Linked DNA regions of Homo sapiens: regions 1 and 2 are each linked to region 3. The links are contacts of gene promoters, found by promoter capture Hi-C in human tissues and cell types (Jung and others, 2019). All regions are on one chromosome and are shown on one strand. The core of a region is centred on a gene start or on the middle of the fragment in contact, and the rest is flanking DNA. Distances in the headings are between cores, read along the strand shown.

Evidence for each region. The method cuts DNA at HindIII sites, captures the fragments that hold promoters and counts their contacts. A contact is called where the count stands out against the background at its distance.
Region 1: the fragment with the promoter of SLC43A2 here is called in contact with the fragment with the promoter of DPH1 in region 3 in 1 of the 25 tissues and cell types used here (bladder).
Region 2: a fragment that was not itself captured here is called in contact with the fragment with the promoter of DPH1 in region 3 in 1 of the 25 tissues and cell types used here (dorsolateral prefrontal cortex).

What each region holds. Positions count from the first base shown.
Region 1 is chr17:1,627,418-1,630,117 of GRCh38, forward strand. SLC43A2 (solute carrier family 43 member 2) reads right to left here and starts at 1,417. Exons shown (of 14, transcript NM_152346.3): 1 at 1,377-1,417; 2 at 298-503. The coding sequence starts at 457. RefSeq lists enhancers at 1-127, 128-665. The HindIII fragment of the contact is 9,222 bases long and covers 1-2,700 here.
Region 2 is chr17:1,576,052-1,578,751 of GRCh38, forward strand. It overlaps SLC43A2 (solute carrier family 43 member 2), which reads right to left. Exons shown (of 14, transcript NM_152346.3): 12 at 2,199-2,272; 13 at 546-669. Among named protein-coding and RNA genes, the nearest start is that of PITPNA, 15 kb to the left of the region's middle. RefSeq lists enhancers at 1-277, 278-1,089, 1,090-1,901, 1,902-2,700. The HindIII fragment of the contact is 6,207 bases long and covers 1-2,700 here.
Region 3 is chr17:2,028,853-2,031,552 of GRCh38, forward strand. DPH1 (diphthamide biosynthesis 1) reads left to right here and starts at 1,301. Exons shown (of 13, transcript NM_001383.6): 1 at 1,301-1,378. The coding sequence starts at 1,318. RefSeq lists enhancers at 1,049-1,640, 1,641-2,232. The HindIII fragment of the contact is 15,169 bases long and covers 1-2,700 here.

The sequences.
Region 1 (2,700 bases), core at 167-2,666, 400 kb before region 3:
TGTTCGTAGCGGGTGGAAGGAACACCCTGGACAGCAGGTGGGGTTCTGGGTGGATGGCAGGCCCAGGCTCTGCGGCCTTGCGCAAGACAGATCGCTCTGAGCCTCGATGTCTTCGTCCACAAAACAGGGGCAATGACAAGTACCCGGCAGGGCTGGGTGAGGATCAGATGGGCCTTCTGATACCCTAGAGGCACTGGGCAATGCGGTGCTGTGGCTCGCTAGGTCTTCGCCCCCATCCCGCCCCCTCCCAAAGCCCCAGCTCCAGGAGCCCCCCGCAACCCCAGGCGCTTGTCTCACCTGGCTCGGTACACAGGTAGGAGTAAAAGCCCTCTGACTTGAGCATGATGAGCAGCGAGCCCCAGCCCAGGAGGACTGCCGAGAAGAGGAGGTTCTCCAGCACGGCCGTGCAGGCCATCCACCAGCGGCGCCGATGGGCAGTGGCCAGGGTGGGCGCCATGGTGCGGCGCGGCGCGGCTCCGGCTCCGGCTCCGGCTCTGCACCACCTGCGCACAGAACTCGGCGTCAGCGGCCGGCCCTTGCCCAGCCCCTGCGGCCGCCCCCAGCAGCCCCGACCGCTGCCGCAGGGCTCGGGATTGCCACCCCTCCCCGGCCGCGGCGGCCGGTGCGCGCAGCAGAGGAAGCGAACCCCAGCCCTGCCCGGACCTGGGACACCCCGAGCCCGCGGCCGGCTCGTACCGCTGCCCTCCGCTACGACAGAGCCGCCCCGGCCAGGCAGGGAGACGTCTCCCGCAGCTCACTCCGAGGTAAACTGAGGCATGGAGGCAAGAAGGGGCTAACGCATGCTCAGGGCCGTGGAACTAGTCCTGGCCTGCAGCAGGACTGACATCGCCTGGGGCCAGCATGGAACGCAGCGTGAGGTGGGCAGGGGCAGATCCGAGGGCTGCCTCTCCCAGGGACCCTGACAGGTGCCCTCCCGCCCGCGCCCGAGACCCTTCCCCAGAGCTGGTTTCTTCAACCACAAGATCAGCGCCCAGACCTACGGAACGGCCCGCCCCGGCGCGCTCATTGGCCGGACGGCGCAGGAACTGCCGCGCCATTGGCCGCCGTCTAGGTCGCTAGGCGCTGCGGCCACGCGAACCCAGCGTGGGAGACGAGGAGCCGGTTCAAACCGGTGGCGCGAGCCAGCCGCGCGACCCCCATCTCGGGCGTTCCCCCGGCAACTCGCCCGTTTCCATGGCCTCGGACCCCCGCGCCTCCATTCCCCAGCCCGCATCTGTTCGTCATCTCTTCCCTGGCGGCCCCTCATCGCTCCATCTCTCTCCTCGTTCCCACGTTTTCTCCCTACGCCCCTTCGGCGGCCGCTTCTGCCCCCGCGCCCTCGCCCCGGCCGCGATCCCCTCCCTGCTGCAGCTCACCCGGCTCCTCCGGCGTGTGTCGGGCCCGCCCGGCGCCTTTTCTGCCCTCTTTTATTCCAGCCCTTTTATTCCGACCCCAAGAAGAAAACACTGCCGCCCGCTGATTGGCTGAGCGGGGCTGGAAACAGGCGTCGACCAATCAGCAGCCAGCCCCCCGCCCGCCCCGCCGCGAGCAGAAGCCGGTTCCGGCCGGACTCGGAGACAAACAAGAGAGATGGGGGACGGGAGGGGCCTGGGCGCTGCGGGCCGGGCCTCGGCTTTGCAGCCTTCAACCCGAGTCACAGCGCGGCCGGGAATCCCCGGCGACATCGCCCCGCGGCCTCTCCAGCGGCCTGACCCTGCGAGGCTGGGGCTCCGGCTCCGCGTCCCGGCCCCCAGCGGACTCCCCCCAGAAGCCGCCGGGCCACCAGCGCCCCCAGCCGGGCTCTCCCGCGGCCGCCCCGCCGTCCCCAGCTGCCCCCTGCGCGCGGGTCACCACGCCCAGATGCGCCGGCTCCGCACGGTGGTTCCACTCTCGAATCCCCACCCCGCCTCCTCCCCACGCAGCGCCGCCGTCCCCGCCGCCTCGGGCTTTGGGTCCTGGTTCCTCGCTCCCCCGCCCCGGTGGTTCCCGTCCCGGCGTATTCGGGGCCTGGGATCCCGGACCCGGTCCAGCCGTGGCGCCCCCCGCTGATGCACCGACCCCTTCCCCTCTCCCCGGTGGCGTCTGCCCGGTCCCTGGAAGTTGGCCCTTGGAAATCTGCAAGGGGATTTGGGGCTGGTCTGTCCCGTCCTAGGATGGGGTCTCCTGAGCTCCCCCCATCAGACTGACCTTTCTCCGCCCGTGTTCACGCACTGCTCGGTCCTCCGGGGACCCTCCACCCTTGATCGTCATCTGGGTGCTCCCTGCCCGCGCTGGCCACCTTCACCCCGTTCCCCGTCCCTTTCAGGGAAGGTCCCCTCTGCAGGGCGATGCTACGGGCCACGTCCGCCAGCTGGTACAAGCTAGGGAGGGTTCGAGGGGGCTCCGGGTCCCCGTCTGATAAGCCCGGGCTCCGAAAGCTCAGCTCCCCGTCTTCGTCCCCCGGATTCGAGGCACTAACCCGACCCGGGAAGACCCTCTGACTGCCCCAGAATCGCCTTGGTCACCCTGGCTCGCTCCGGGGGGCTGGCTTAGCACCCCAGGGCTGCCGCGCGGTGTCCACGTCTGGAATCCCAGCGGTTTGGGAGGCTAAGGTCGGAGGGCCACTTGGGGACAGGAGTTTGAGACCAGCCTGGGCAGCATGGCGAGAACCATCTCTACCAAAATAAAAACCAAAAATAAAACCCCACCACCACCCCAGGG
Region 2 (2,700 bases), core at 92-2,591, 450 kb before region 3:
GGCGGGGACAGGAACTGTGTTCTTTTTTTTTTTTTTTTTTTTTTTTTGAGACGAAGTCTCGCGCTGTCGTCATTCAGGCTGGAGTGCAGTGGCGCAATCTCAGCTCACTGCAATCTCCGCCTCCCGGGTTCAAGTGATTCTCCTGTCTCAGCCTCCCGAGTATCTGGGATTACAGGCACCTGCCACCACACCTGGCTAATTTTTGTATTTTTAGTAGAGACCTGGTTTCACCATGTTGGCCAGGCTGGTCTTGAACTCCTGACCTCAAGTGATGCTCCCGCCTCGGCCTCTCAAAGTGCTGGGATTACAGGTGTGAGCCACCGCGCCCGGCCCAGGAACTCTGTTCTATTTCTCCCCAAATCAGGTCCAGAGAGGACATGTTCCTTTTCCTGCCTAGCCACCATTCACAAAGGGACTCTTAACCAATCCTAACCAACGCTCCCACATGTCCTCGGGGCCCTGAAGCCCCCGAGGGGGACCTTGCAGCTCGCAGTTAGCAGAAGGGGGCAGGCGCCCATGACCCACCATCCCCCGACCCCTCTTACCCACAGAGGGTCTCCCTGGAGAGGACCCATCATGGCCAGAAACAGCGGCTGCTGCAGAAGGGCGAAGAGCGCGCTGATCAGAGACTGCAGTCCCGTGAGGCTGCCGAACTGGGTGGAGGGGTACCTGCAGGGCAAGCGACAGCTCACAGCCATCCTGCCTCCTGGGCTTTGCTTGGCCCCAGGTGTCTGGTGACCCCGGGCTGCACCGTTGGTGCCAGAGAAGGGTGGGGTGCCAGCCCTCGGATTCCTTCCTGCTGGGCAGTTCTGTTTTTTTTTTTTTTTTTTTAAGATGGAGTCTTGCACTGTCGCCTGGGCTGGAGTGCAATGACACGATCTCGGCTCACTGCAACCTCCGCCTCCCCAGTCCAAACAATTCTCCTGCCTCAGCCTCCCTAGTAGCTGGGATTACAGGCGCCCGCCACCACATCTGGCTAATTTTTTGTATTTTTAGTAGAGACGGGGTTTCACTACGTTGGCCAGGCTGGTCTCAAACTCCTGACCTTGTGATCTGCCTGCCTCGGCCTCCCAAAGTTCTGGGATTACAGGCGTGAGCCACCGCGCCCGGCCCTGCTGGGTGGTTCTGCAAAGTGTTTCTCTTTGGACCAGCTCCAGGCCCCAGACTCTGGGGAGGGCCCACCCCACTCAGCTGTGCCCAGGGCCTGTGGGTGTCTGGCTGAGCCGAGTGGAAAGCGTGGTGCCAGCGGGGACCTGCGGTTTGGGAAACAGGCCCAGAGAGGAGTGTGGAGGCTGGGCTTGGCTCTGCAGTGCCCTCGTCCAGAGAAGCATTGAGTAATCGCGGAAACTCAGCACCACAGATCCCGCCCCCCTCCCTCAGACCCTGCCAGGACAGCCACAGCTTCCTCCAGGCCTGGGGAGGGGCAGGCGGAGGGCAAGCGGAGCTGGGATTACCCCAGGGGCTGTTGCGGGAATTGGGAGAGAGTTCCGGGCTAAATCTTAGCACATGTCAGGCTCTGCTGGCCCAGAGGTGGGAAAGGAATCCCAGCAACACATGAGCTGGTCCCACATCAGAGACTGTGGATGATGATGTTTGAGTTTCAGTTTTTGGGTCAAGGCCTGAGCCAGAGAAGAAGGAACCACTGTGGTTCCTTTTATGTTTCTGGGGCTTCTTGGAAAAAGATACAGGTTTCATTTTAGCCAGGGCTGGAGAAAGCTATGGCCAGAGCTGGGCGCACTGAGGCTCTGGATGGGCCCGTCTGGTGTATTCTGGACTCAGTCACCCATGTTGCTGCCCGTGATGAGGGCAACTGGAACTTCCGCATTTAGCTTCAGGCAGCCAGAACCTACCCATCCTTCCCAGTGAGCAGCCAGGGCCAGCCCCAGGACTCGGCTGTAGTGGCCCCTGAGGCCATAATGAGCTGCACAGGTGCCTGACCCTGGCTGGGGGAACTGACTTCGTGTTGAATGCCAAGGCTTGTGAGCACCCAACTGTCTGCCCACTGACCTGCTTCCCACGAGGTATGGCCTTTCCCTGAAACACCCAGCAGAAACCCTGGTACCTGTCCCCTGAAGCAGGAAGATGAGCCCTTCTGGGACAGGCTGACCCTGCCTCAGAGTCTCAGTCCCACCAGCAACCTCCCCCCGGCCATTCCCACACCCTCGCCCACCAGGCCACCTGCGGCTTCCAGGACTTACACGGCAGCGTACAGGCCCCCGACAGCGGAGTGGATGAATCCTCGCACGATTGTGTGCAGGATGAAGGAGAGGATCTGGGGGAGGAAAAGGCGACTGTGGGCATAAGGCCTTAAGGGACCGTCCCCTCAGCCCCCGCCCTCCAATTCCTGGGGGCCCTCACCCCAGGGGCAGTGTCAGCCTGGAGTTGGATCAACCCCATCCTCCGGAGCCAATTGTGAATTTTCAGAAATTTTGCAAGCCAGTCGTTAACACAGTCATTTTTTGTTTGTTTGTTTGTTTTGTTTTTTGTTTTGTTTGAGAAGAAGTCTTGCTTTGTCGCCCAGGCTGGAGTGCAGTGGCGTGATCTTGGCTCACTGCAAGCTTCGCCTCCTGGATTCAAGCAATTCTCCTGCCTCAGCCTTCGGAGTAGCTAGGATTACAGGCCCACGCCACCATGCCCGGCTAATTTTTGTATTTTTTAAGCAGAGATGGGGTTTCACCATGTTGGCCCGGCTGGTCTCAA
Region 3 (2,700 bases), core at 51-2,550:
TCTCTGGCTGCTTGTTTTTACTTCTCCCTGCACCTTAATTAGGGGTTTCCAAGCAGGGAGGGCCTCTGGGGGAGCCCGAGGACACAGAGCTGACTTAAAGGGCCAGCTGTGATCACAGCACCACCGCAGAGAGAGGAGGAGGATGCCAGGGGGCTGGGTAGACCGTCAGACCTGGAAGACCATTGTTCCACGGGACAGACTGCTGAGGGCCAGTCCTGCAGGTACTTTGCTCTTCCACAGGTCAAAGCCGTCTCACTGGCTGTCTTCTCTTTGGGGTCTCTGGGGCTCTGGCCAGTGATCAGGAGAAAGACCAGCCCTGAGGGGCAGGGCAAAGGTTGGCCAGGGTCCAGAAGGGTTAGACATCACAGTCCTCCACTGCCCACCTTCCCAGGAAAGCACCCTCAGGCTGTGGGCCTTCCCCAGAGGGGCAGTTTCTACAGGGTCTACGCAGTGGATTCTAAAGGTGATAAAGGCTGGGTGCAGTGGCTCGCGCCTGTAATCCCAGCACTTTGGGAGGCCAAAGTGGGAGGATTGCTTGAGTCCAGAGGTTCAAGACCAGCCTGAGCAAAATAGTGAAACCTTATCTCTACTAAAAAAAAAAAAAAAAAAAAAAAAAAAAATTAGCTGAACGTACGCCTGTGGTCCCGGGTACTCAGGGGGCTGAGGCAGGAAGATGAATTGAGCCCAGAAGGTTGAGACTGCTGTGAACCATGATCGCACCACTGCACTCCAGCCTGGGCGACAGACCAAGACCCTGTCTCAAAAAAAATAATTTAAAAAGCTGATAAGGGCGATCCACAAACCTGCACCAAGACTCTCAACTTGGAGCTGGGCTGGTGGTCCCTGAGTTCTGTCCTGCCGGACAGTAGAGTCCCCCTAGGTAGGGAACGTGGCCCCACACGGCGGCCGGGTGACCGACCACTGCTTACCAGGAGGGGAGACTGGCAGGGGGGGCTCAAGGAACATCTGGTGGGTGTCCCCTTCACAAGACTCGGCCTGCAGAGTTCGTGCAGGGAGTTCGCACATAGGAGAGCACCGGTCCGGGAGTGCCAGGCTCGTGCCCGGCCGGGGAGAGGAGTGGGAGACTAAGTCGCAGGGCAAGGGCAACTGCATAGTCGGGGACCTCTAGGGAATCCTGAGTCCCGGCATTCTGGGCTGGGGTGGAGCCCACTACAGCCCCGCCCCTATCTCCTCCTTTATGGCCCCGCCCAGCGGGTATCCCCCGCCCCCGCTGGCCGATCGGCGATCGATCGCAATGTCTGCGCTCTCCGCGTTCTTCCAGCGCTGTCTTTTTAGTACCACATGCGCAGGCAGGTGATGGCGGCGCTGGTCGTATCCGGGGCAGCGGAGCAGGGCGGCCGAGACGGCCCTGGCAGAGGTGGGTGCTGGAACGCTGCGCCCTCCAGACCTCGCATCTCGGGGCGGGGCCCCCAAGTTAGGGACAGGACCAACCCCCTTTAACGGCGGCGGCGCCTTTCTCCGCTAGATCCCGCTGTTAGTCGCCTTGGGCCGCTGTCACCAGCTCGGGGTCGCTGTCAGCCGGAGCCCAGGGGTACCAGTCTTTTGCAGCTTTAGGGCACGACCGAGAGCAGCCCTTAATCCTCCAATCGGAAACTACAGCCTTGTCTTGGCGGGTAGACGGATAAAATGGACTCGACGGGGAGGGAAAGGGCCAGGCCAGATGCAGCGGGCATTTTACGAGTGCGCCCTCAGGGAATGCTTTCAGGGAAGAGGCAAAAGGTTTCATTCGCCAGGCATTAACTGAGCGCCCACCGAATGCCAGGCCTGCGCTGGGTGCAGGTACTAGAATCAGAGATCTCAGTCTACTGGGGGAATGTTAATGTAAACATATCATAGCCACGTGATAAAGGAGGAGGTGCCTACTGGTCCCTGGGACACATTGAAGGGCTAATGTTAGCAGTTCCTTACACGCCAGCGACCACTAGGGACCTGTCAGAGGAGGATCTGTAATGGGCCTAGGAAGCCTAGGCTGATTGTCCAAGGCTTTTGAAACAACTGGCCAAAAACCATAGCAGTGGTAACGTTCAAATCTGATCTCAGGGCCCCAGCCTCCGCTGGACCATCCCCACCGCCGCCCACACAGTGGGTGAAGCCTCATGTCTGGGCGGGTCCCTCCTATCATAGTGTGGGGCCCTAGCAGAAGTTGTGGCACATAGCACAGTCTCAATACATATTCGTTGAATAAGTTAATTTCTTGCCTTTTCATATCCTCAGACTCTGTGGCTCCTGAAGAGATAACGGGGTTGAACTAAGCTTAATTGTCGGGGCAGGGCATAGTGGCTTACACCTTTAGTCTGAGCACTTTGGGAGGCTAAGGAGGATTGTGTGAGCCCAGGAATTCCACACCAGTCTGGGAAACATAGGGGGACCCTGTATGCACAAAAAAATAAAAAATAGCCGTGCGTGGCCGGGCACGGTGGCTTACACCTGTAATCCCAGCACTCTGGGAGGCTGAGGCGGGCGGATTACCTGAGGTCAGGAGTTTGAGACCAGCCTGGCCAACATGGTGGAAACCCTGTCTCTACTAAAAATACAAAAATTAGCCGCGTGTGGTAGCACACGCCTGTAATCCCAGCTACTCGGGAGGCTGAGGCAGGAGAATTGCTTGAGTCCGAGAGGCTGAGGTTGCAGTGAGCCGAGATTGCACCACTGCACTCCAGCCTGGCCAACAGACAGAGT